7 separate regions of the Homo sapiens genome follow, and regions 2, 3, 4, 5, 6 and 7 are each linked to region 1. The links are contacts of gene promoters, found by promoter capture Hi-C in blood cells and fetal thymus (Javierre and others, 2016). All regions are on one chromosome and are shown on one strand. The core of a region is centred on a gene start or on the middle of the fragment in contact, and the rest is flanking DNA. Distances in the headings are between cores, read along the strand shown.

Evidence for each region. The method cuts DNA at HindIII sites, captures the fragments that hold promoters and counts their contacts. A CHiCAGO score of 5 or more calls a contact.
Region 2: a fragment that was not itself captured here is called in contact with the fragment with the promoter of CIMIP3 in region 1 in 1 of 17 cell types (naive CD4 T cells); the score reaches 5.1 in naive CD4 T cells.
Region 3: a contact is called between a fragment that was not itself captured here and the fragment with the promoter of CIMIP3 in region 1, in 2 of 17 cell types (endothelial precursors and megakaryocytes). The highest score is 6.0, in endothelial precursors.
Region 4: a contact is called between a fragment that was not itself captured here and the fragment with the promoter of CIMIP3 in region 1, in 9 of 17 cell types (total CD8 T cells, naive CD4 T cells, non-activated CD4 T cells and 6 more). The highest score is 9.8, in total CD8 T cells.
Region 5: a contact is called between a fragment that was not itself captured here and the fragment with the promoter of CIMIP3 in region 1, in 8 of 17 cell types (activated CD4 T cells, non-activated CD4 T cells, total CD8 T cells and 5 more). The highest score is 7.3, in activated CD4 T cells.
Region 6: a contact is called between a fragment that was not itself captured here and the fragment with the promoter of CIMIP3 in region 1, in 7 of 17 cell types (total CD4 T cells, non-activated CD4 T cells, naive CD4 T cells and 4 more). The highest score is 12.0, in total CD4 T cells.
Region 7: a fragment that was not itself captured here is called in contact with the fragment with the promoter of CIMIP3 in region 1 in 4 of 17 cell types (megakaryocytes, naive CD8 T cells, non-activated CD4 T cells and 1 more); the score reaches 6.5 in megakaryocytes.

Annotation. Positions count from the first base shown.
Region 1 is chr6:42,153,692-42,157,516 of GRCh38, forward strand. It overlaps CIMIP3 (ciliary microtubule inner protein 3), which reads left to right and starts at 1,715. Exons shown (of 2, transcript NM_001384994.1): 1 at 1,715-1,794. The coding sequence starts at 1,786. GUCA1ANB-GUCA1A (GUCA1ANB-GUCA1A readthrough) reads left to right here and starts at 1,715. Exons shown (of 5, transcript NM_001319062.2): 1 at 1,715-1,902. The HindIII fragment of the contact is 11,083 bases long and covers 1-3,825 here.
Region 2 is chr6:41,747,108-41,750,932 of GRCh38, forward strand. It overlaps PGC (progastricsin), which reads right to left and starts at 290. Exons shown (of 9, transcript NM_002630.4): 1 at 169-290. The coding sequence starts at 227. The HindIII fragment of the contact is 1,482 bases long and covers 864-2,345 here.
Region 3 is chr6:42,546,748-42,550,572 of GRCh38, forward strand. LOC124901317 (a long non-coding RNA gene) reads left to right here and starts at 278. Exons shown (of 2, transcript XR_007059578.1): 1 at 278-1,592; 2 at 2,197-2,425. RefSeq lists an enhancer at 1,146-1,325. The HindIII fragment of the contact is 6,264 bases long and covers 1-3,825 here.
Region 4 is chr6:41,789,954-41,793,778 of GRCh38, forward strand. USP49 (ubiquitin specific peptidase 49) reads right to left here. Exons shown (of 8, transcript NM_001286554.2): 8 at 1-3,825. Among named protein-coding and RNA genes, the nearest start is that of TOMM6, 4.2 kb to the left of the region's middle. The HindIII fragment of the contact is 1,996 bases long and covers 944-2,939 here.
Region 5 is chr6:41,828,585-41,832,409 of GRCh38, forward strand. All of the region lies in intron 3 of USP49 (ubiquitin specific peptidase 49), which reads right to left. Among named protein-coding and RNA genes, the nearest start is that of TOMM6, 43 kb to the left of the region's middle. The HindIII fragment of the contact is 3,275 bases long and covers 1-3,235 here.
Region 6 is chr6:41,850,624-41,854,448 of GRCh38, forward strand. All of the region lies in intron 3 of USP49 (ubiquitin specific peptidase 49), which reads right to left. Among named protein-coding and RNA genes, the nearest start is that of USP49, 43 kb to the right of the region's middle. The HindIII fragment of the contact is 8,920 bases long and covers 1-3,825 here.
Region 7 is chr6:41,869,104-41,872,928 of GRCh38, forward strand. It overlaps USP49 (ubiquitin specific peptidase 49), which reads right to left. Exons shown (of 8, transcript NM_001286554.2): 3 at 2,461-2,534. Among named protein-coding and RNA genes, the nearest start is that of USP49, 24 kb to the right of the region's middle. The HindIII fragment of the contact is 2,220 bases long and covers 925-3,144 here.

The DNA of each region.
Region 1 (3,825 bases), core at 465-2,964:
GAGACAAAGTACAATGTGTGCTAAGCCGTGGCTCCCCCAAACCCACACCCAGACACCTGGGCTCCCTCCTGATAGCTCCTTCAGGCCATTTTCCCCCAGATGCAGAGATGCTGGGCACTCTGTCCAGAATGCCATGTCCCCAGCCTCCCTTCCAAACAAGACTCCACCCTCCCCAGAGCGCTTGGAGATTGCCGGTCAGAGGCTGTGGCAGGGGAAGCCCAGTTAATGCTCCGCTGCTCCTTCTCTTTCTCTCCTGGTGCCTCCCAGCCTCCTTAGAAATTAGGGGTCATTACCATCAGGGTGTGAGATCTAGGGACAGCACACAAGTCATCAACACCCCAATTTCCAGTCTGCCTTCGGCCCCAAAGTGCATCTTGTCAGCGTTGACTCAGGGCCAGGAAGAAAACAAATAATTCCGGGCCCAGCCCAAGCTGGTGTGGCAGGAAGGCACCCAATAGCTCTATCTACCTCCCGCTGGAACTCTCTCCTTCCCCTCAACCAAGGGAGAAGCCCATGTCATTCCTACATGTGGGATTTCTGACATTACTCCTGGAAGCTGCCTACCAAGTGTGGTATTGGGGAGACAGGACCCTAGGGAGGTAGGGGAGCTGATTTTTGAAGATGGGGACAGGACAGCCCATTCAACCACCCACCCATCAATCCAATTACCCACCCACACATAGTCATAGCTGATGTTTACTCAATGCTTACTCTGTACCAGGCACTGTCCTAAGTGCTTTGCCCAACTCTATTAGGTAGGGACTTTACCCATTTTACAGATGAGAAAACAGAAGCATAGAGATGTCAATTAATTTTCCCAAAGTTACACACTAGTAAAGTAGTACAGCCAGAATTCAAGCTCAGGCATTCTAACTCCCAGACCTGCAATCCTCTATACCACAGCCATCACCATCTGTCCATTTACTGACCATCCATCCATCCACTCACACATGGTCACTCCTATTCAGCCATCTGTCTATCCACCTGTTCATCCATCCCTTTATCTCCCAACCCTCTGTTCAAAGCAATCCATGAGAAGGAATGGCATATGTAGAGGCTCAGAGGGGAGAGAGTGGGGCATGTCTAAGAAACTAGCTACTCCATAGAGAGCAAGGGAAAGATAGCAAGAGATGAGGCTAAGGAGATGAGCAGGGCTCAAATCACAAGGGTTGGCCCATCCACCATCTATCTGCCAACCCAGTCCATCCACCTGTCCATCCACCCTCCCACTCATGTCCACCCATCCATTCATCCACTCATCTCTGTAATTTGGAAGGCAGATAGATGATAGATAGATGATAAATAGATGATTGACAGGTGGTAGATGATAGATGATAGATAGATAGATAAATAGATAGATAAATAAATAGATAGATTAGATAGATAGATAGAATGAAGAGTTGCCAAGGTACATTTCCTTCCTGACAGTGATATTGGGACATGGGGGGATATTAGGACTTCTGGAGGCACCTTGATAATTAGGATGATCTCTCTCCATTCACCTCCTGCCCACAGTTTTAGGGTTCTATGGGTTTGTGGGAAGAGGGAATAGCATAGTGGGCCAGTGTCAAGGTTAAAAGACCCTTCCAGGTCCTGAAACGTCAGTCCCCAGCCCTGGCCTCATGTCTCCTTGGGAAGACAGAAGGAATTGTGTTGTAAAGAGGTGTCACAATGCCCCCTGCCCCATACAAGTTCTCCCCACCTTGGCACTCTCAGTATCCTGCCAAGAGTCCTCCCTGACCACCAGAAGTTCCACCTCACCATCAAGAAAGGCCCTGGTCCAGGATGTGCAAGGTGTGATGAAATCACAGGGCTGGGGAAGGTCAGCTCGGGGTCACAAGAAGCCTGATGGGCAGGAAAGAGCATGAAAGCCCCAGCCAGCCTCACATGTGCGGCTGGGAGGTAGGTCCTCTTACAAAAGGCTTAGTTGGGTGCTGGTGCTGGTGCTGCTGCCTGCCTTGTACTCCCCAGCTGTCGGACCTCTGCGATCTCTCTGGGGAGATGGAGAGAGGGAACAGGACACCCTCCATCTTGCTTCCTCTGCCCCTTCACTGCTGTAAAGTGTGTCCTGGACTGTTTGGTTCGTGTTACACCATCTCCAAGGCAAACTTGAGATAAATAATAATTGTAGCTAAAGTTTGAGTGCTTAAGAGGTCTAGGCACCTTACATGGACTAGCTCATTAAGTCCTCACATGAACCCTATGAGGTAGAGCTCTTGTTATTCCCACATTATACTTCGGAAAATTGAGGTACAGAGATTATAATTTGCCTAAGGATCAGGCAGCTAGTGAGTGAGAGGGCTGGAATTCTATTTATTTTTTTTTTGAGACTCGCTTTGTTGCCCAGGCTGGAGTGCAGTGGCACAATCTCAGCTAAGTGCAACCTCCGCCTCCTGTGTTCAAATGATTCCCCCACCTCAGCCTCCCAAGTGGCTGGGATTACAGGCACCTGCCACCACGCCCGGCTAATTTTTTTGTATTTTTAGTAGAGACGGGGTTTCACCATGTTGACCAGGCTGGTCCCGAACTCCTGACCTCAAGTGATTCTCCTGCCTCGGCCTCCCAAAGTGCTGGGATTACAGGCGTGAGCCACTGTGCTCAGCCATTTTTTTTTCTTTTTTTTTTTTTTTTACTTTTTTATAAAATAGAGATGAGGTCTCTCAATGTTGCCCAGGCTGGTCTTGAACTTTTGAGCTCAAGCAATCCTCCCACTTCAACCTCCCGCTGAATTACAGGTGTGAGCCACCGGGCCCTGCAGGGAACTGGAATTTGAACTGGGGTAGCTGGCTCCAGGCTCTCATGCTACCCAGTCACATGAGGAAGCTGAGGCCTACCCCCGGCTTCCCTAACCACTCCCTTCAAAGCCCCTGTGCTCCCCCAAAGGGAAACGTGCTCTCCTATAGGTTCAGACAGGTATGTGTGTGAAACCACGGTGTAACTGCCCGAGAGGCTGAGAGTAATGACTATTTGCACTGTGCCTTTACCGTTCCCAGCACTCATGGCACCCCACCACAAGCTGGTGAATTAGATAGCCTTATTATCCCCATTTTGCAGATGAGGCCCCTGAAGCTCAAAGAGGCTCAGCCACTTGCCCAAGGTCGCCTGACCTGTAAGAACAGGGTCAGGCCCAGAGCTCAGACCTTCAAACACCAAAGCCAAGGCACATTGGACAGCACCACGTGCCCCTGGGGGCCCTCACCAGCCTTCACACCCAAGTGCTATTTGCATTTCAATAAGGCACAAGGCCTTCCCCCAGAGTGAGGAGGCTACAGGTGGAATTTCTCACTGGGCAAGGCCATGTGCCTATGGCCCTGGAGGATTTGAGAGGACAGGGTGCCTTCCTAGAAAACCTGTAGTAATATCACAGATGAGATCTTCTTGCCCTACTCAGAAAGCCCCACTCTTGAGTCATGCACTTCCTCACTCTAAACCCCGGCATAAGGGACAAACGCATATTAGTATATATGTACATATTAATACATGTGTACTGTGCATCTGAAAGGCCTTTGTGGGGTCCGCCTGTGGGGATGGGGGTTATGAAGGGATATTTCTTTTTTCTGAGACAAGGTCTCACTCTGTCACTTAGGCTGGAGTGCATTGGCTGATCTCAGCTCCCCGTAACCTCCTCCTCCCTGTAACCTCCTCCTCCCTGATTCAAGTGATTCTCCTGCCTCAGCCTCCCAAGTAGCTGGGATTACAGGCGTGCACCATCACACCCAGCTAATGTTTTGTATTTTTAGTAGAGACGGGGTTTTGCCACGTTGCCAAGGCTGGTCTCAAACTCCTGGGCTCAAGTGATCTGCCCACCTCAGCCTCCCAATGTGC
Region 2 (3,825 bases), core at 355-2,854, 410 kb before region 1:
TCCTTCCACCCATGTGTCCTGTCTAACATCAGCAAAGGGAGACTTCCCTTCCCCTAGCAGAAGTCCCAGAGTAGAGACAGGCAGGGTGTCCCCTGGCCCAGTTGCCCTTTGCAGGGCTTTAGGCTCCCATCCAGGCTCCCTGCACCAGCAGCCAGATCCCAGACTCACTTGACCACTGCTGCCTCCAAGAGCTGGAGGCAGACCAAGACCACCACCATCCACTTCATGATGCTGGTCCCCAACTGGCCACAGAGGAAGAGCAGCTCTGAGTTCTGCAGTCGCAGTGGAGTGAAGACCTGGGCACTCTTTCCTCTTTTATACGCCCAAGATTAGTCTAATCGCTGCCTCCCTGCCCTGGGCAGCCATGACCTCAACCCAGGGTGTACCCTGTGCTTCGTGTATCGTTTCTGTGTATTTTTCCTTCTTGAGGGTGGCCGCAACAGACTTTCATCTTATTGACTTTTTGGTTCAAGCATCGGAGGCCAGGAGGTGCAAGCGATAAGAGAGAAAGTTGCCGTAAGATGGAGTGGTGAAGATTACGTCTTGTTCCCAAACCAGAGGCATAATGTGTGCATTTAGGGACGAGGGCCAGAAAAAGGTAGAGGCAGAGTGCTGGGATAGATAGGATCTATAGCCAGGGTTTCGCAACCTCAGTGCTGTCGACATTTTGGAACAAATAGTTCTTTGTTGTGGGCCCCATCCTGTGTACTATAGAATGTTTAACAGCATTCCTGGCATCTACCGACTCGATGCCAGGAGCAGTCCACCCATTGTGCCAACCAAATATATCTCCAGGCACTGCTAAGTGTCTTCTGGATGGGCAAAATCATTGAGAACTGCTTGTCTCTAGGTTATGTACTTGAAGCTTTGACTCCACTCCTAACTCCTAGCACCCTCAAACCCTCAGGGGAGGAGATAGGGGTGTCAGGGGGTCAAGAGGTCAGTAGCTAGTAGCTAGGATGCTGGTTACAATGATGGTGATGGTGAGGGTGGTGCTGATGGCAGTGTCGGGAGTTCTGGTGCTGGTGGTGGGGCTGGGATGACAATGGCTGAAGTCACAGCTATTTGAGCAGCTTCAGAGGCTTTCAAGGTCAAACAGGACATTTGGAGAAATGCTTGTCATAATTCAGCAAATGCTCAGGACACACTCACAGAGTAAGCCACACCAGCTTCTGGTTGTGCCTCTTGTACCGACCTAGATCAGAGGCCTGGAGCAGGGGCATATGAAGAGGGACAGGCCTGCGCCCTGCTGCTGTTCCTCGTTCTCTCTTCTGCCCCGCTGCGTCCCTGCTTCTGTCTTCAGTTCTCCTAAAGTGCCTATGTCTCCCATGACCCACTCCCAAGCCCTTGTGCAGCCCCCAAGTCTGATTTGTTAGTTCCTCTATCCCTCATCTCGGCACCCCCTCCCCCACCTCCCCCAACTCCCACCCCACTTCCCAGCTACCAGCTTCCCATTGCCTGAGGTGACCTGGAGCTGGCCCAGTGCCTGCTCACCTGGCCCAGGACAGCTCTCCATTTTGGAGTGAGTGGGAAAAAAATCCCCGTGCCAATAGCCTCTCTGCGACCTCGTACCCCACACTCAGGGCTCCAGGCAGATTTGTCAGGTCCTCAGGCCCCAGGCAGAAGGCCAGGACCAGATCTGTAAACACTGATATCATCCAGCTGGTGGGGGATTTTCCACTCTAGCCACTGCTACCCACTGCCCAGCCAGAGCCCTGGAGCTTCCCCAAGCCTTATAATGGGGGAGGGGAGGGAGGACTAGAAGTCAGCTGGGCCTGGCACAGAGAGGGAGGTCCCTACCTGATGGTGTCTCAAGCCAACTTAGCTTCCATTCCTCCCTGTGGTCCCCAGAGGTACATTGGACTATGAGGTGAAAGACAAGATAGGGAGTGCCTTCCCTGGGTTGAGGGGAGTCCCCATATTTGGGAAGCAGGTAAATAAAATTATAGGATCATTGGAATCTTTTTTTTTTTTTTGAGATGGAGTCTTGCTGTGTCACCAGGCTGGAGTGCAGTGGCGCGATCTTGACTCAATGCAACCTCCACCTCCCGGGTTCAAGCAATTCTCCTGCCTCAGCCTCGCAAGTAGCTGGAACTACAGGTGCGTGCCACCACGCCCAGCTAATTTTCTTATATTTGTAGTAGAGACAGGTTTTCACCATATTGGCCAGGATGGTCTCAATCTCTTGACCTCGTTATCCGCCAGCCTCAGCCTCCCAAAGTGTTGGGATTACAGGCATGAGCCACGCGCCTGGCCCAGGTCATTGGAATCTTGCCAAATCCTTTAATATAGCAGAATTCATGGGATCCCCTAAGTCATGTGAGGCCTCCAGATTCCCCAACAAAAGCTTCAGGGACCCTTTTCTTATCTGGTAGGACTCCAGGAGTCTGGCTGCTGCCAGGCTAACCTTCCGCAAACACCCAAGAAGTCACAACAAATCCCTTCCGAGAGTCCCTGATCGACTGCATCAAGCTAGGGCATCCCAGCTTGGCTGCCAGACCCTGGGGCCTACAGCCCCTGCCTACTCAATTGATCTTCTGACAGCTCGGTCAGATCCCAAGTCCTCTCCTGCCTGTGGTCTGCCCTGTCTGCTGCCCCCCATATCTGAAAAAACCCACATGACTAGAAGCTCCCAGAGAGCAGAGCCCATGGCTTTTGCATCCCTGTGCCTGGCTCAGAGCTCAGGAAATCTCTGAACAATAGATAGAGCTCAGGAGATTGTCTTGCTGGGGCTTAGTTATAGCTCCCACACCCCGTTATCCCAGGGCTCTGATTGCTAGCCTACACCCCCAGGAGATTTTGTCAAATTCTGGGTCCTCAGGTCCCCTCATGGTGGTGGTGCCCAGGCTTTTTCTTATCGCCTTCTAGTCTCATTTCCTTTAAGCATCACTTGCATCAAAACTCATCAGAAGCCCACTGCTAACTAAATAAAACTCAAACTTGTTATCTTGGCATTCAGGACATTCTCCATTTCCTACGTTTCCAAAATCATCTTCTACAACTAACCTACACTTTCCTTTCTCCCCAGGAGGCCTCTTATTTCCTCACCTCCATGCCTTTATCCATGCTATGCCCTCCATGTGAAATACCCTTCCCGAGCATAGTCACCTGTAAAATCTCCTCATCCTTCAAGACCCAGCACGAATGCCACAAAGTCTTCTCTGTTGAGCCCACCTATTCTCAAACTGACTGTTATTGTGGAGAATTTTGCTTTTGTTCCCTTCAGGTATTTATTTCATACCATCTTATATCCCAGTGACTTGCCCAAAATCCTATAGCTTTTAACTGAAAGAGGTTTCTTCCTGCACATGGTACCTTCGGTATCACAAACTCATCTTTCAGAAGATCTACAAAAATGACAAAATGACAATAGGAATGGGAATGTCTTTGGAAGAGGTGGCAACTACATAGCATGCACACTACCACTGCTCATTCATCATCATTGGCAGACATCACTAATCAATCATGTCACTTTCCCACAGGGCTCAGACATGGCCTTAGAATCCTTCCCTAGCTAATGTTCCATGAAGACATGCTCAATGAATCTTGACATGACAATCTCCAAGTCCCTTAATGGAGGATTTTTTTTTTTAATTCTGCATACTAGGCTGGGCATGGTGGCTCATGCCTGTAATCCCAGGGCTTTGGGAGGCCAAGGCGGGCGGATCATTTGAGTTCAGGAGTTTGAGACCAGCCTGGCCAATATGGTGAAACCCTGTCTCTATTAAAAATACAAAAATTATCCAGGCATGGCGGTGGGCACCTACAATCCCAGCTACTCGGGAGACTGAGGCACGAGAATCACTTGAGCCCGCAGGAGGCAGA
Region 3 (3,825 bases), core at 346-2,845, 390 kb after region 1:
ACAGTTAGGGTTGCCAGATAAAATACAGGATGCCCACTTAAATTTGAATTTCAGAAAAAGAACAAATTGATTTTTAGTATAAGTACATCCCATGCAATACTTGGAACACACTTAAATAAAAAATTATTTGTTATGTCTCTTAAACCCAAATTTCACTGGGTGCCCTCTATTCGTATTTTCTAAATCTGACAACCCTACTTTTAGCTAGCCTTCATTTGGCGAGGCCAGCAATTCCCTTCAAAGTGAAATATCCATTCTCCGGCAATGTGCCATAATCTGATAAAGCAGGATTTTAATAGGTGGCCTAATTCAGATACTGAAGTTATTCTGTACAACGATGACAAATTAATTAGGGGTAATTCAGAAACAACTGTGCTTGAAGCTCTGTCTTCCCTTGATTTTTTTGACTGAAAGGGATGTGCCATCAATCATGAGAAAATTCAGGCGCCCTCCAAGATGCAGTTTGGCTCTGCCTCTGCCCGCTAGAGGAATTCACCCTGGACCAGATAGAGGCTTTTGTTTTTCAAGCCCCCTACCACTAAAAAGCAGGCATAGATATTAATGGGCATCTTGGATCCACATCTGGGTATTAGATTATTAGAAGGGCATCAGAATTTGCATGCGGTCCGAACCAGCCACTGCCTCCGAAGCCTTGCAGACCACAGTGCCTGCTGCCCTTCCTCTGGGTCCATATCACCAATCAGAATATGAAGTGTGTCTCCTTAACTGCTGATGACCGGAGCCTTCTGGGAATTCCTGAGGGAGGGGAAGGACTTAGCCTGTGGCTTCTAGTCCTGAGGATGCTCCCTTTGAATGTCAGTTACCAGCTGCTTATGGAAGCTAAGACAAGGGACATCAAGTACTTCGGGGTCCCAAGCTGTATAACAGGAATCGGTCACGTTCAAACAAAAGCTAGCTCCAGTGCTGAAGAGGAACTCCAGAGATCGAAAAGCTCAGCCCCACGGAGGTTGGTCCCTCCTCCGGCACTGCGGAGGCCAGCCTGGGCAAGGGCGCCCCCTGCAGGCTCCCGGCATCGGTGCCGGAGAAGCACGGTGGACTCTGAGCTGCCGCCGGTTTTGTGGGTGGCTTTGCCTCCCTCACTTCTAAAACCTCCAGCGGTGGCGGTCCCCTTATACCCTGCCTGGGGGGGATACTTGGAGAGGAGAATGAGGGGCTTCTTCCCAGTGGGCAGAACCAAAGGCAGTACCGATGACTTGAAGCTGGGCTCTAGAGAGCAAACAAGACTTTCCTGTATTCAAATTCGCAGGCAGTGATTTATGTTTAGGCCACTGGCTTGGCTGCCGGCTGTGGATTCCATTGACTGGCGGACAAAATTAAGCTCCTGGTTCCTCACGTGGATGCCATCAGATCCCTAGTGAAGAATCCCGTGGAACAAAGCTGTAGATGTTCTGATAAGATGAGAGAGGCAGACAAGTGGTCACATGACCAGAGAGACCGTGGAGGAGTGGATGCTGCCTTGGCCTGGGGGAGGACCCAACGTATTTAGCAGTCCACGCACGTGCTACTCACAGCAGCCCTGTGAGCTTATCCTTTCCCTACCCTTTTCTGTGCCTGGAGGCACCGGCCTAAAGGTAGGTTATATTTCACTGCTGCCCTCTCATCAGAGCCAAAACTATGTTGTCACAATTAATGCTGAATTCGGTAAAAGCCACCACTAAGGAGATGTACAGAAAAACAGCATTCCTGATTTCTTAGCATCTGATTTGTCAAGAATGGGTTTATAATCTGAATATAAAATGGCCCTTCCTACTTGCCCATCTCCTAAGCAGCAAGTAAAGGAGGGTGGAGGCATTGACTCCTCACTTTATAGCTGAGGATTTTCACTGACTCAGGAACATGCATGAGGAAGCCTACTGTTCTATCACAAGCCATTTACTCTCCTAATTGCTTCCAACATATAACTCCATGGTGACAGACCAAAGAGTGAGTAACAATAATGGGGACAGGTAAGAGTCCCATCAATAAATTGCCAAAACCCCAAGTACATCTGGTGATGCTACCTATGAAGGGATCTGATAAATACAAATAAGGAATTTTGAACTTTGCTTTGATAAATACAAGTGAAGGATTGGGACAAAGAGTGGGAAAACAAGGGAAAACTAACAAGTAAACAAATGAGTCTAAACTAACAAGTAAACATATGAGTCTAAAATGAAATTTCCCTCTACCTTTTAGGTTCTACATGATGATGGTGACCAATCTGATGAAAATCCACTAAGTAAACTGGGACAGGAACTTATAATTTCACAATTCACCAGAAAGATGAAAGTAAAAATGAAAACTCTTTTTAACTAAATGGTAGATAAATTATGAACAAACTATCCGGGAATCAAATCATAAAGGGGAAGAGGAGGGAGGCCGGGGAAGTACTGAATATGACCATAAACACAAATTTACTACATCAGTTAAGAGATCTTTGATTGAATTTATTTTTTCCAGATCAGAGCAGTTTTTTGTTTGTTTGTTTTGAGACGAAGTCTTGCTCTGTCACCCAGGCTGGAGTGCAGTGGCATGATCTCAGCTCACTGCAATCTCCATCTCCTGGGCTCAAGCTATTCTCCTGCCTCAGCCTCCCGAGTAGCTGGGATTACAGGTACGCACCACCCCACACATCTAATTTTTGTGCGTGTGTGTATTTTCCATAGAGACGTGGTTTCACCATGTTGGCCAGGCTGGTCTTGAACTCCTGACCTCAAGTGATCCACCTGCCTCAGCTTCCCAAAGTGCTAGGATTACAGGCATGAGCCATTGTGCCCAGCCTGATCCTGTTTCTTTTTGTAATGGCGCCTCCTAGTCAAGGATCAGCCCTCAATAAGCATGGGGTTATTCCCTCCAATAGGGAGCAGCACAAGCTACAACTCTAAGAGACTCCTCATGTAGCACTTGTGGACAGACTGAACCCAAAAGGAGCAGACTGGAATGTGTGTAGAGAATAGCCACACTCAATTAATGCTAATTAACACTCAGTTATTTGCAGACCATATAGGTGTGTAAACTCAACTATGGAAGAGTACAACTATTAGCCATTGGCAAAAGCAATTGATGGAAACAAATGCCAACAAAAATTGGTGAGTAAAAATCCTAAATGACTGGGCCAGGTGCGGTGGCTCGCGCCTGTAATCCCAGCACTTTGGGAGGCTGAGGCAGGTGGATCACAAGGTCAGGAGATCGAGACAAACCTGGCTAACACGGTGAAACCCCATCTCTACTAAAAAAATATACAAAAAATTAGCCAGGTGTGGTGGCGGGCGCCTGTAGTCCCAGCTACTCGGGAGGCTGAGGCAGGAGAATGGCGTGAACCTGGGAAGCAGAGCTTGCAGTGAGCCAAGATTGTGCCACTGCACTCCAGCCTGGGCGACAGAGCGAGACTCTGTCTCAAAAAAAAAAAAAAAAAAAAAAAAAAATGACTGGGTATCAATTTTTAAGTACACTACTGCCCTTTCAATAGTTTTAAAAAATGAACACATTTATCACTTGTCTACGGTAAGTTTGTTTAACTGACTCAGCTTGGGAGCCTGGGAATTCTGTTCCTGCAGATTCTGACAGTGGGTGCCGTACTGGATTACTTTTCTAACAGTGAGAAAAGATAGGACAATTTTACCATCCAGGCAAAAGACCAAGTATCTTCTCTGAGAAATCTGACTAGACTAAGAGGAAAGATCAAAAGATACTGGCACTATAGATTTCCTGGTGAAACATCCCAGACAGATCACCCCACAAAACATTCCATAATTGATAAGCTCTACCCATGATTTCAGAGCATTTCATCAGGTTCTTAGTCTCTCATTCTTAAAAATGAACCAA
Region 4 (3,825 bases), core at 692-3,191, 360 kb before region 1:
TACAAAAATCATAAAAACATGATTTATATTTCACACTTGAGAGACAAAAACAAGCCCCAAAACATGGATTTTAATGGAGGTGGTTTGCTTCATTTTAAAAGGGAAAAAAAAAAAAGGAAGCTGTAACCATACATTGATGTTAACCTAGCATGAAGTTTATTCTTGAAGAATTTACATTGTTGAGCAATATTAGGGGAAGAAGCCATTTGGTGTTGCATAGCATTTTAGTGCACCAGATGGGTTTTCCAGACACCAGGGAGGCATCATTGCTGGAATAGTGAGGTTTGGTGGCAGAAAGAGGGCAGTGATGTGTAGGGGGAGGCAAAGTGAAGTAAGCCTGGGCAGTGGTCACTAAAGTGACACTGCTGAGGCAGCTGCTTCCTTCAGAAGGAAATGTTTTGTGACCCTAAAATTCATGGTAGTGCTACTGTCCAGGGTTTGGGGGCTCTTTGGAAATGGAGTATGTACGGAACTGGCATGTATAGACTTATATAGCCATAGAAAGAGGTGGATAGAAACAGGTCCACCATGGCAATATTTTTTTCTGGCCAGTTTACTAGGCATTAAAAAAAATACTGCTTTTATGTGCCAAGTCTCTTATGGAACTAGTATGGGATTAAAGGACGTTAATTGGAAAGGAGGGTCAGTATATAAGGACCACAGTGGCCTGTTAAGGATGACAGATGTCTCTAGCAGTTTGTTCACTACTAAAGTTAAACAGGACAAAATAGTCTTTCCTGACCTTGCTGGCATAAATATTAAGAAAATTGTTTGAGAATTAGATTTTTTTAGTATGTATATAAAAACAGCACCATTCTTTGTATAAATCAGATAGATCTTATCTGATAGATGAAGCTAAGACCCTTTGAGTCTACACTGGGTTGACTCTGAGAGGTTTATATCTTATTGGGTATTAAGATAAAGAAGGGTCACATGAGAGCAAAGCTTAGCTTTGAAGCCATCACCTCCCAAATGGTGACCAAGGAGGAAACTTTTAAGCCATAGTATAGATGCTAACCCCCATTTAGACCTGCATCAGATCACTTGCTAAGACAAGAAATACCAGCACCTCCTGTTCTTTATAGGAATGAAACTTAGATCCTTAAAGGCTGCTACCTGATATACTCATGACTGGACAGTTTTGATAAAAACTTCCAAAATTGAAAATCAAAATCCAGCAAGAATTAAGACATGGCAGCTTCCAAAAGCATAATTCAAATTTCATTCAAAATTTACTGTTTTGGCTTCAAGTAAGTGTTTACTGTTGGTTGGGTTTTAAAGCCATAATTATGGTTGAGTAAGGATTCATTTATTTATTTATTAAATTTTTATACATTTTTGAAAAGATTTCAAATCTATGTTTCCCAGGCTGGTCTTGAGCTCCTGGCCTCAAGCAATCCTCCCACCTTGGCCTCCCAAAGTGTTGGGATTACAGGTGCTAGCCAACTGCATCCAGCCAATGTTTCATTTCAACTGGCTTAAATCTTCAAAGTGGTTAAGAATTTAGTAAATAAAACTACTTAATCTACAACTTTCAAAAATTGATGAGTAATCACTAATTCTGTAAATGAAGGAGTTGGACTTCACTATTGCCAAAGCAACATTTTCCCCAAGGAAAGTCAATTTGATATCCTGTCACACTTTTCAGCCCTGGCTAGTTAACACAGTACTATGAAAATCTTTAGCTAGATTTTAAACGAAATATGCCAGCAGAAGTATGGAATGAGTCCACAAAAATGAGTGCCTGCCACAATGCTATAGTAGCTATGGTGTATTTAGTGCAGAGTGTGGGATGAATAAGTACATAGTAATTAAAGTCATAGTCCTGGCCCAACAGAACAGTTACTAAATGTAAGATACAAACTAAACTCACAGTCATATTTAGAAGGCGCTTTTCAGCTTTAGCACTGACTTAAAAAGTCTGAACCACCAGGAAGATGCGTACTTAACTGGTTAAAAAATTAAGTGGCCCTGGAAAGTTTTACCCCAAAGATACAACTTCTTCACTTATTTAGTTCAGTAATGAGGCTGAGGGACCCAATTTTCAAGTGTGCATTTGAGTGGGAAACTTTTAAACACCATATGTTGAAGTTTCATGAGCTCAGTGGAAACCTTAAGGTCAGAGTAAAAGAAACTGGCTGTAAACAGCCCTGCAGTGAAGAGACTGGGTCTTAGCACCTTCCACATTCACTCAGCGCCATCTCAGTCAGCGCCTGCCAGGGAAAGGGCATGGAGAGCTGGGACGGGTGCCTTCTCTTTTGCACCACTCCCTTTGCATATTACACAGTGCACTGGCTTGCCTTACAATCTAAGGTTCACATACAGGGGGTTTTCTATACTGCTTCCGGACATTTTTTGCAAAAGAACATCAGAACCAATGAAGGTACCATTTCAGGAGGAATCATTTTTGTTTGACTTCTGCTATATGTTGCCCAGCATTAGTCATTGTTTTGATAAAGACTAAAAGGCCTTTTCTCAACATTTGTGCTCTCCCAACCACCTGGGAAAGCAACCCTTCCACTCACAAGAGGTAACCTCAGATAGGGATATAGTATTCATTTAAGAAGGGGTAGCCCCCCAGCCTGATTTAAAAAGGCCCAAGTCAATGTATGGAACATGACAAGGGAAGTGAAAAACAATGGAGTACACAGTCTGCCTTGAAAAGCAGCCATTTGATGAACAGTCACAAATACAAAGAATTTGGACATTGTAACATAATTTCAGAACTTGCTGGTAAGAATAATTTGCATTCACACACAAGAGACATGAAATGCTTTTTAAAAGTCTGTGATACCAGATGTCCTTTAAACACTACACAGACCCATTTGCCACTTGAAATGACAAGAAGAAATCCTTTCCCTTAATCTTTTCAATTCCATGCAAACCGTAATTGAGTACAAGGCACCAAATTTTATGAATTGTATAAAATTAGTTCACAAAGCTTTATCAGTAAGTAGAACAAACTCCATTTCTCCCTCCCGGCCAGCCCACCCTCCTCCCACCCACCACCCGCCATCCCCGACCAAGTTTTCATTCTGCACTACTGTCGACCTCTCTAGGGCTTATGCTGGGGCATGCCCCACTGTCAGCCAATCCACCTCATTGGTTCTTCCCTTGTACTTGGATGAAGCTGTAAGCACAGCCAGAGTAGCAAACTCATACAATCATTGACTCTAGAAGCCTTGCCATTAAAAACAAAAATAAACTCTGCTATTGAGTCCATAGGACACATTAACACTTCTACAGTTTCCAATTTTATTCATGACATTTTAAGAGACATCTGGAAATTCTTTTTTTTTTTTTGTTTTTGTTTTTGTTTTTTTTTTAAGACAGAGTCTCGCTCTGTCGCCAGGCTGGAGTGCAGTGGCACGATCTCGGCTCACTGCCCCTTCTGCCTCCTGGGTTCCAGCGATTCTCCTGCCTCAGCCTCCCAAGTAGCTGGGACTACAGGCACGTGCCACCATGCCCAGCTAATTTTTGTATTTTTAGTAGAGACGGAGTTTCACCATGTTGGCCAGGATGATCTCAATCTCTTGACCTTGTGATCCGCCCTCCTCGGCCTCCCAAAGTGCTGGGATTACAGGCATGAGCCACCGCGCCCAGCCTGGAAATTCTTTACAGTGTAGCACTGCCCCCCAACCCTGCCCCATAACTCCGAGACTGAGGGGCTGGATCAAAGCTGGCAAGAGCTCTGTCCACCATTTAATAAGAGCTTCAGTTCTGCCAAGGGCATTCCTAACTATTTTTATACTAGCATGGATGTTCGTCTCAGAGGCAACCACAGATATGAGGGTCAGGCTAGATTGAGGTAAAAAAAAATCCTTT
Region 5 (3,825 bases), core at 348-2,847, 330 kb before region 1:
ATATTAAATGATTGGAGTTCTTTATATATTCTGAATACAAGGCCTCTGGCAGTCAGATGTGTTGTAAATATCCTCTGTCTGCAATTTGTCTTTTGTTTAAGGCATCTTTTGTCATACATAAGATTTACAGTTAATACAATCATATGACGCATCTTATAATTTCATCTTTTGTTTATGAAATCCTTTCTTATGCCAAGGTAATAAAGGTACTTGCCAACAGTTTCTTCTAAAAGTTTGAAGTTTACACTTAGGTTGTCAATACATCTGGATTTTTTCCTCCTAGCCTCACCCTTAATCATTTGAAATTTTGATTGGCATTTATTGAATTTATAAACTTATTTAGGGAAAATTACCTCTTTATTATATGAAGTCCTCCCATCCATGAACATGCTATCTCTCTGTTTATCCAGGTCTTTTGATTATGTTTTCTCCCCAAGATATATATTTCTTGTTTAGATATTTCCTGGATACTTTATAGTTTTTTTGTGGCTACTATGAATAGAATCTTTAAAAAAGTATACATTTACTAAATGATTATTGCTGGTAGACAGGAATGTGATTGATTTCTGTATTAGGTTTAATCATATGAAACTGCAAATAAATATTTAACGACCATTTTGACCTACATAAATTATAATTTTGTATGGTTGAATCAAAAGGTTGCTGATCTGAAACTCAGCAACTTTGCAGAACTATTATTATTAGTTCTAATAATTTGTGGATTCTCTTGAATTTTTTTTTTTTTTTAAGATGGTGTTTCGCGCTTGTTGCCCAGGCTGGAGTGCAATGGCACGATCTTGGCTCACTGCAACCTCGCCTCCCGGGTTCAAGCGATTCTCCTGCTTCAGCCTCCCAAGTAGCTGGGATTACAGGCATGCAACACAATGCCCGGCTAATTTTGTATTTTTAGTAGAGATGGGGTTTCTCCATGTTGGTCAGGCTGGTCTTGAACTCCTGACCTCAGGTGATCTGCCCACCTCAGCCTTCCAAAGTGCTGAGATTACAGGCGTGAGCCACCGCGCCTGGCGGATTCTCTTGAATTTTCTATGGATGTCTACATAGTCTTCAAATATAGACAGCTTGGTCCTCTCTTTCTTGTCTTCTGGAATTAACCAGGAAGTTCAGTTGATTAGTAAATATTAAGGCTGATAGTGGGCACCATGTACTGTTCTTAACTTGAGAGGGAACAGGTCTGTAGTTTTACTGTTAAGTGTGATGTCTACCAAAGGAAGTTTTGGTTAACTTTAGGTTAAGAAAGTTTTTTATTTCTAGCTTTGTGAAAAAAATTTAATCAGACTAAATATTAAAGTTCATATAATGTTTTCTTCTGAACCTATTAAGAAAATAAGAAGAACTTCCCCTTTTAAAAATTAATATGTTGGATGATATCAGTGATGTATTTTCTGATATGAAACCATCCTTGCATATAATAATTTAAACAAACTATTTGGTCTTGATGTTTTGTTTTTTAATACAATAATACATTCAATTTGCTAGTACTGTTTAGATGTTTCAAATCCATTTTTAGAAGATTAGCCTTTCATTTTCTTATAATATACTGACCTTCCCTGTTTTGTACCAAGATTATACTAACCTCAAAACCTGAGATAGCAGCTTTCCCACTTTATCTCTTCTCTAAAACAGTTTAATTCTTCTATGGTTTATCTGTTCCATGAAGGTCTGATAAAACTTACCTGTAAACCTGTCTCATCTAGGCATTTTGTAGGATTGTTTCAATGTTTAATATAGCTAAGTTCAGATGAAGATCCAAAAATCCTCCCAGTGATCACAGGTCTCCAAGTCTTGGGAAATTATGCCTTGGTAACCTAGTGTCTACTTTAACCCCTACAGAAATTCCATATAAGTTTATACTTTTGAAAATAAATAAATAGTATGTTAATGACAGACAATGATGGAGCAAACAAAACAGATTTGCAACCAATTCAAATTTAGGAAAGCAGGCCAGGCGTGGTGGCTCACACCTGTAATCTCAGTACTTTGGAAGGCCAAGCCAGTGGATCACCTGAGGTTAACCAGTTCGAGACCAGCCTGGCCAACATGGTGAAACCCCATCTGTACTAAAAATACAAAAATTAGCTGGGCATGGTGGTGCATACCTGTAATCCCACTCAGGAGGCTGAAGCAAGAGAATCACTTGAACCTGGGAGGTGGCGGTTGCAGTGAGCCAAGATCGCACCACTGCACTCCAGCCTGGGCAACAGAGCAAGACTCCGTCTCAAGAGAAAAAAAAAAAATTTAGGAAAGCAGCACGAAGCACCAGTGCTGACTGGCCAAGAGATTGTTATACACTGGTGCTACCTGTACAGGCTGATTGATAGGAACCTCCACACAAGATAACCTGCATTGTCACTATAAAAGGTAGAGCTATCGACTGGGATTGGTGACTCATGCCTGTAATCCCAGCACTTTGGGAGGCAGAGGTGGGCAGATCACCTGAGGTCAGGAGTTCAAGACCAGCCTGGCTAACATGGTGAAACCCCGTTTCTACTAAAAATACAAAAAATTGCCAGGCGCAGTGGCTCACGCCTGTAATACCAGCACTTTGGGAGGCTGAGGCGGGCAGATCACGAAGTCAGGAGTTTAAGACCAGCCTAACCAACATGGTGAAACCCCGTCTCTACTAAAAATACAAAAATTAGCCGGGCGTGGTGGCATGCACCTGTAACCCCAGCTACTCAGGAGGCTGAGGCAGGAGAATCGCTTGAACCCAGGGGGTGGAGGTTGCAGTGAGCCGAGATTGTGCCGCTGCACTCCAGCCTGGGCAACAGAGCGAGACTCCATCTCAAAACAGAAATAAAAATAAAAATAAATAAAAATACAAAAAATTAGCTGGGCGTGGTGGTGCGCACCTGTAATCCCAGCTACTCGGGAGTCTGAAGCAGGAGAATTGCTTGAACCCAGGAGGCAGAGGTTGCAGTGAGCCGAGACCGTAACATTGCACTCCAGCTTGGGCAACAAGAGCAAAACTCCATCTCAAAAAAAAAAAAAAAAAAAGTAGAGCTACCATTTTTGAAATAAACTAATCATTTTTCTTCACCACTAACTCTCTTGAGCTTCTAAATCCATACTGCACATTAAACATTACTCCAAACTAAAATTAAAACCACCACCACAACAACCCATAACCTCCGCTTTTAATGGGCTGTCTGTATGATAAAGTCCAAGTTCCTCAGACAGACCTTCAAAAGTATCACATACAATCTGACCCCAAACAAGCTTCTCATATTATCTCCCACCCTTTCTTTGTGTCCAAACAACCAGATGGACTGGTCTACTCACTATTTCTTCAGACGTCCCAAGAACAGTCAATTCCTTGAGATGCTATCCTTCCTCTTCTGTACTAACCCTCAAAAGCCAGCTTAGGTCCTGTCCTTTTTTAAAGGCTTTTCCTGACCATTCTACTACCCAGTGAATCTCTCCCTCAAAGAACACCTCATTGTTCACAGTCCTCAATTGTTTTATCTGGTTTACTAACCATAGTCCAAACTCCTTAAGGCAAAGTCTGTACTGTTTTTTTTTTACCATTCACCCCCTGCACAAGGCTCTTGATATAAAGAACTAAGAACTTGACCCCAAATCTTTCCTGGGCATCTTTTACTCATGTTACCTGATAGTCTTGATTTGTAATTCTAGGTGGAGCTGCTTCCCTTTGATAAATTAACTGAACAGAGACAATTATCTTCTGAAATTCTGTGATGATAGCTCATTTAACCTATTCTCTCCCAGTTCTAGCTCCTTTACAGGGCACTATGTAAGACTATCATGCTTTCCTAGCTACATATGTATGTACTGGCAAATGCCTAA
Region 6 (3,825 bases), core at 471-2,970, 300 kb before region 1:
GAGACAGAGTCTCATTCTGTTGCCAGGCTGGAGTGCAGTGGCGCCATCTCGGTTCACTGCAACCTCCGCCTCCTGGGTTCCAGCAATTCTCATGTCTCAGCCTCCTGAGTAGCTGGGACTGCAGGTGCGCCACCACGCCCAGCTAATTTTTGTATTTTTAGTAGAGATGCGGTTTCACCATGTTGGCCAGGCTGGTCTCGATCTCTTGACCTCCTGATCCGCCCACCTCGACCTCCCAAAGTGCTAGGATTACAGGCGTAAGCCACCGCGCCTGGCCATGGATAAATTCTTAGAAACACACAACTTACCAAGACTGAATCATGAAGAAATAGAAAAGCTGAAAAAAACCAATGAGTAAGGAGATTAAATCAGTAACCAAAAAACTGCCAACAAAGAAAAGCCCAGGACCAGATGGCTTCACTAGAGAATTCTACCAAACATTAAAAAATAATGAATGCCAAGTTTTCTCAAACTCTTCCAAAAACTGAGGAGGAGGGAACACTTCCAAGCTCATTCTATGATGCCAGCATTACCCTGACACTAAACCAGACACAGACATCAAGAAAAGATAACTACAGATGAATATTCTTTGTGAGTATTGAGGTAAAAACCCTCAACAAAATACTGGAAAATTCAGTAGCATGTTAAAAGAATTACATATTATCAATAAGTAGGACTCATTTCTGGAATGCATGTATGATTCAACATATGAATATCAATCAATGTAACACATCACTTTAACAGAATAAGGACAAAAAGATGACCATCTCAATTGATGCAAAAAAGGCACTGGACAAGATTCAACAAAACACCCTTTTATGACAAAACATCAAACAAAGTATAAATAGAAGGAAACTGCCTCAAAATCATAAAGACCATGTATGAAACCCTCACAGATAATATCATACTCAGTGGTGAAAGAATAAAAGCCTTTTCTCTAAGACAAGGAACAAGCCAAGCATGCACACTCTCACTACTTCTATTCAACATAATGTTGAAAGTTCTAGTCAGTGCAATTAGGCAAATTGGAAAAGAAGTAAATTTACCTGGGCTGGGCAAGGTGGCTCACACCTGTAATCCCAGCACTTTGGGAGGCCAAGGCAGATGGATCACGAGATCAGGAGTTCAAGACCAGCCTGGCCAAGATGGTGAAACCCCATCTCTACTAAAAATACAAAAAAATTAGCCAGGCATTGCGGCGGGCACCTGTAATCCCAGCCACTCGGGAGGCTGAGGCAGACAACTGCTTGAACCTGGGAAGCAGAGGCTGCAGTGAGCTGAGATCGCGCCACTGCACTCCAGCCTGGGAGACAGAGCGAGACTCGTCTCAAAAAAAAAAAAAAAAAAAAAAAAGAAAGAAAAGAAGTAAATTTATCTGTTCTCAGATAACATGATCTAATATATAGAAAATCCTGGGCCGGGCACGGTGGCTCACACCTGTGCTGTAATCCCAGCACTTTGGGTGGACGAGGAGGGCGGATCACCTGAAGTCAGGAGTTCGAGACTAGCCTGACCAACATGGTAAAACCCCATCTCTACTAAAAATACAAAATTAGTTGGGTGTGGTGGTACATGCCTGTAATCCAAGCTACTTGGGAGGCTGAGGCAGGAGAATTACTTGAACCCAGGAGGCGGAGGTTGCAGTGAGCTGAGATTGTGCCCCTGCACTCCAGCCTGGGCAACGAGAGTGAAACTCCATCTCAGAAAAGAAAGAAAAAGAAAATCCTAACGAGTTTGCAAAAAAATTGTTAGAATAGACAAATTCAGCAAAGCTGCAGGATTCAAAATCAATATGCAAAAATCTGCTGTATTTATATACACTAACAATGAACAATTCAAAAGGAAATTTTTTAAAATCTCATTAATAACAGCATAAAATACACTTAGGAATAAAACTGAGCAAGTGAAAGACTTGGACGATGAAGACTATAAAACATTGTGGAAAGAAATTAAAGACACAAATAAATGGAAAGATATCCATGTTCCTGGATTGGAAGACTTGGTATTGTTAAAATGTTAATCCTACCAAAAGCAATATACAGATTCGATGCAAGCCCTATCAAAATCCCAGCAGCAATTTTCTGAAATACAAAAATTAATTCTAAAACTCATATGAAATTTCAAGAGACCTTGAGATATTTAACACCAATGTTCATAGCAGCACTATTCATAACAGCCAAGAAGTGGAGGCAACCAAAATGTCCATCAATGGATAAACGGATAAACAAAATGTGGTATACACATGAGATGGAATATTATTCAGCCTTAAAAATGAAAGAATTCTGGCCAGGCACAGTGGCTCACACCTGTAATCCCAGCACTTTGAGAGGCCTAGGCGGATGGATCACCTGAGGTCAGGAGTTCGAAACCAGCCTAACATGGAGAAACCCCATCTCTACTAAAAATACAAAAATTAGCTGGGCATGGTGGCCTGCGCCTGTAATCCCTGTTACTCAGGAGGCTAAGGCAGGAGAATCGCTTGAACCCAGCAGGTGGAGGTTGCAATGAGCCGAGATGGCGCCATTGCACTCCAGCCTGGGCAACAAGAGCGAAACTCCATCTCAAAAAAAAAGAGCTGGGGGGGAGAATTTTGACACATGCTACAACATAAATGAGCCTTGTGGACTTTAGGCAAAATGAAATATGCCCATCGGAAAAAGACAAATACTGTATGATTCCATTTATATGAGGTATCTAAAGAAGTCAAATTCATAGAGACAAAGTAGAATGGTGGTTGCCAGGGACTGGGGAAGAGGATGGAGAGTTTTTTAATGCGTATAGAGTTTCAGATTTGCAAAATGAAAACTGTTGCAAAATGAAAAACTTTAGAACTGTTTCACAGCAATGCAAATATACTAAATACTAGTGAACTGTACTCTTGAAAATGAAGGGTTTAAGATGTTAAATTTTATGTTTTTTTACCACACACACAAAAAGATAAGCACTAAAACATTTGTCCAATGTAAGATCTCTGACCTCAGAGTTTACAATCTCATATAGAAGATGAGAAATAAGTACAAAGAACCTGGATAGGTAAGGCCATCTCAAGGTACCAAGGCAAACACTAAGAGTCTTACTAAGAAGCAGGGTAGGCCAGGCACAGTGGCTCACGCCTGTAATCCCAGCACTCTGGGAGGCCAAGGCGGGCAGATCACCTGAGGTTGGGAGTTCAAGACCAGCCTGACCAACATGGAGAAAGCCCGTCTCTACTAAAAAAAATACAAAATTAGCCAGGCAAGGTGGTGCATGCCTGTAATCTCAGCTACTTGGGAGGCTGAGGCAGGAGAATTGCTTGAACCCGGGAGGCGGAGGTTGAGGTGAGCCAAGATTGCGCCATTGCACTCCAGCCTGGGCAACAACAGCGAGACTCTGTCTCGAAAAAAAAAAAAAAAAAAAAAAAGAAGCAGGGTAGGCCAGGAGGGGTGGCTCATGCCCGTAATCCCAGCACTTTGGGAGGCTGAGGCAGGTGGATCACCTGAGGTCAGGAGTTCGAGACCAGCCTGGCCAACATGGTGAAACCCCACCTCTACTAAAAATACAAAAAATACCTGGGTGTGGTGGTGTGCGCCTGTAGTCCCAGCTACCCAGGAGGCTGAGGCAGGAGAATCTCTTGAACCCAGGAGGCGGAGGTTGCAGTGAGCCAAGATCCCACCACTGTACTCCGGGCTGTGCGACAGAGCGAGACTCTGTCTCAAAAAAAAAAAAAAAAAAAAGCAGCAGCATAAACTACAGTTCAACTAAGATTTCCCTGAACATACTTCCAACTAATATGATAAATCACCTGCGATTTCATTCTATCCCAAGGTAATTTATTCTAACCCAAAA
Region 7 (3,825 bases), core at 785-3,284, 280 kb before region 1:
AACACCGAGATAACAGGAAACAATAAAAATAGATTACTGTTTCTAAGTGCTCTTCCTTCTTAAAATAGTTAATTGTCTACACCACCTAAGAAAGTGCTGACAAGCCATACAAACAGTATCAGAGATAATCTTCAAAACTGCTATGACTCTAGCCCAGGTACAGTGGTACCTATAGTCCCAGCTACTCAGGAGGCTCAGACAGGTGGATCACTTGAGTCTAGGAGTTAAAGGCCAGCTGGGTAGCACGGCATGACTCTGTCTCTTTAAATAAAAAATAAAATAATTACTATGATCCTGTGTGCAAAAAGGAAAAAAAAATACTTCAAGCTGGGTGCAGTGGCTCATGCCTGTAATTCCAACACTTTGGGAGGCTGAGGTGGGTGGATCACTTGAGGCCAGGAGTTCAAGAGAGGCTGGACAACATAGCGAGATCCCATCTCTACTAAAAATACAAAAATTAGCTGAGCATGGTGGCACACGCCTGTAATCCCAGCTAGTCGGGAGGTTGAGGCATGAGAATTGCTTAAACCTGGGAGGTGGAAGTTGCAGTGAACCAAGACTGCACCACTGCACACCAATCTGGGCAACAGAGGAAGATTATCTCAAAAAAAAAAAAAATAGAAAAGAAAAAAAACTCAAGAAGGCATGTCCTTCAAAATAGATTGACAGAAACACAACACAGCATTTGACATAGCTATCTAGAAACAAAAGAATTGTGTAGCCTGCTTTACAAGATACTTTTACAGGCAAGATGAACCTATGTTAGGCTGAAGATAGTTGTTTATTCATATATAACTATAAACATCATATACACCCTAAGATATACAGTAAAAGGTAAAGATATAGAACTTTATCCTCACACATAGTCTAGCAGCATACTCAGAGATGAAGTCAAAAGAAAACTTCTCATGAAAAAAACTAAAAAGCTTTTGCCACCATGGTTAACCGTATCTGAGATGGTTTAACTCTTGGAATGTATCAGAGAAAAATTTATGTGTGGATGGCTGGCACATAAAAAGGCTAACTGGGATACATATGAGAATTATAGTTAACATTTACTAAACACTTACTTCATTCCAGACATTATTTCAAGTTTTTTATATGGATTAACTAATCAATTGCTAAGAGATAGCATTTTATTGTCCTCACCTTATATCCAAGGAATTGAGGCACAGAGATAACATGTCCAAATGTCAAGTTAATAGTGACTGGTTAAAAACGGTCTGGCTCCAAATCCATGTTTTTAACCACTAGGCAAAGAAGGTTGCACAAATACATGCCATATACTTATAGACTCTGGGAGGAGGGTAAGATTCAGGTAGAGGATTGTAGTTATCTGTTATTTTTAAATTATTGACATGAATGTATAAACTTGCATAATTAAAAAAACTTTTATATCTCATAAACTTAAAGTCAAACCTTTTACTGAGCTTTCTGTAGAATTCTATTTTTTAAGAAGGTCTTGCTCTGTTGCCCAGGCTGGAGTGCAGTGGAATGATTATAGCTCACTACAGCCTCAATCTCCTGGGCTCAAGCAATCCTGTCACCTTAGCCTCCCGAGTAGCTAGCCACCACACCTGGCTAATTTTTTTTTTTTTTTTTGGTAGAGATGAGGTCTTGCTATATTGCCCAGGCTGGCTAGAATTCCTGGTCTCAGCCAGGCACAGTGGCTCACGCCTGTAATCCCAGCACTTTGGGAGGCATATCCCAGCACAAGGTGGGCAGATCACTTGAGGTCAGGAGTTTGAGACCAGCCTGGCCAACATAATGAAACCCCGTTTCTACAAAAATACAAAAATTAGCCAGGTGTCGTGGCGGGTGCCTGTAGTTCCAGCTAGTTGGGAGGCTGAGGCAAGAGAATTGCTTGCACCCGGGAGGCAGAGGTTGCAGTGAGCCACGATCACACCACTGCACTCCAGCCTGGGCAACAGAGCAAGACTCCATCTCAAAACTAAATAAATAAATAAAAGAATTCCGGGCCTCAAGCCATCCTCCCACCTCAACCTCCCAAAGCAGAATTCTATTTGATTACCACCAGACACACATCTGCACTTGCTCAAATGAACGGGATCCTCGTGGTGGGACAAACATCATAGCAACTGACATATTTGGAGAAAAAGAAGGGGTAGATAATTACTCTTGACAGGTCATGACAGATACGATCTCTATCTTACCACCAAGTTTCAAGACCTACCCTAGACTTGTTTCAGTATGGTTGCTGGTCTTTAGGTCCCATTTTAACTTCAAATATGGCTGTGTCCCCTCTTAGCTTAAGTTAATTCGTGGTACTAAAAAATTCACAAGGTTAAGATGAAAGCAAGCGGTGAAAGTTCAGAATGGAGTTAGACAAAACAGTAACTGATCAATTACCCTCATAGTATGCCAACCTCAGCCACACATAATACTATTATTATAAATAGCTTTCATTAATAATGTTTTATTACAGTTTTTATTTCTTACCCATTAAACAAGTTTTTTCCATCTTCTTCCATATTATTCCACAGTCATTGGTTAGGTTTCCTCTTCTCTATTACCTACAAGTGGGAAACAATCTGTAAGATTGGGCTAATACATGGCAAGAAAAAAGCAATTTCATTAATTGTAATACAAATTCAAAAAAGGACCAGTAAATTACAATGCATTAAACTCCCTACAAGTCCTTAAAACTGATGTAAGAGTAAAAAAAAAACTGTGATCTTTCTTTTCAGCTAAGAGTAACCAAAGAGTCAGTCACTTATGGGTAGACTGATCTACAAATGGAAGTATTAAAGGTTTACTTCCTGAAAAAAAGCACTTCTGCATTTGTTTTAGGTCTTAAAAATTACACATTATATTTGCATACAATCTGAAACTCAGGAAAAAACACACAAATTCATGGTAACAAAAATACTCGAATATCAAAAGCTAAAATTATTTTTGCGTAAGCAAAATATATAACAAGATGGCATGAGGTGGTGACTCTTTTGTGCTAAGTGGGTTTATGACCTATATGTAAGCGGCATGCTTCTTTAAAAGCGGTATATATTCTGTACACAAGGACAATATATTAGCCAAAGACATCTAGAGTTTATGATTTTGACAAATTATATGTATAAGCATGTTTAAGGTTTCTGACACATTATCAGGAAGTAGGACTCAGTATTAAGCTTGAGATCGGCAAGCTGGGCCACCACTGTAAGAGGAAAGAAAATTCTCTATTGTGTCATCCTAACAGCTAACACAGAGTTCCTCTTCGAAGAAACTTTAAGAAAATATGTTCCCGGCCGGGCGTCCGCCGCCCCATCTGGGAAGTAAGGAGCCCCTCTGCCTGGCCGCCGCCCCGTCTGGGAAGTGAGGAGTGCCTCTGCGCGACTGCTGTGCAACCATCCAAGTATGAAGTGACAGCCTTGTGTGTTATCTTTCTGTCCTCCCCAAGTTTGCATTTTCGACATTAAAGTTTACTTTTTAATTAAAAGTTTTAAATTGGAGTACATATATATATATAAAAAGAAAGAAAGAAGAAAATATGTTCCCGGCCAGGCACGGTGGCTCACATCTGTAATCCCAGCACTTTGGGAGGCCGAGACGGGCGGATCATGAGGTCAGGAGATCGAGACAATCCAGGCTAACATGGTGAAACCCCATCTCTACTAAAAATACAAAAAAAAAAAAAAATAGCAGGGTGTGGTGGCAGGCGCCTGTAGTCCCAGCTACTCAGGAGGCTGAGGCAGGAGAATGGCGTGAACCCGGGAGACGGAGCTTGCAGTGAGCCAAGATCGCGCCACTGCACTTCAGCCTGGGCGACAGAGAGAGACTCCACCTCAAAAAAAAAAAAAAAGAAAATAT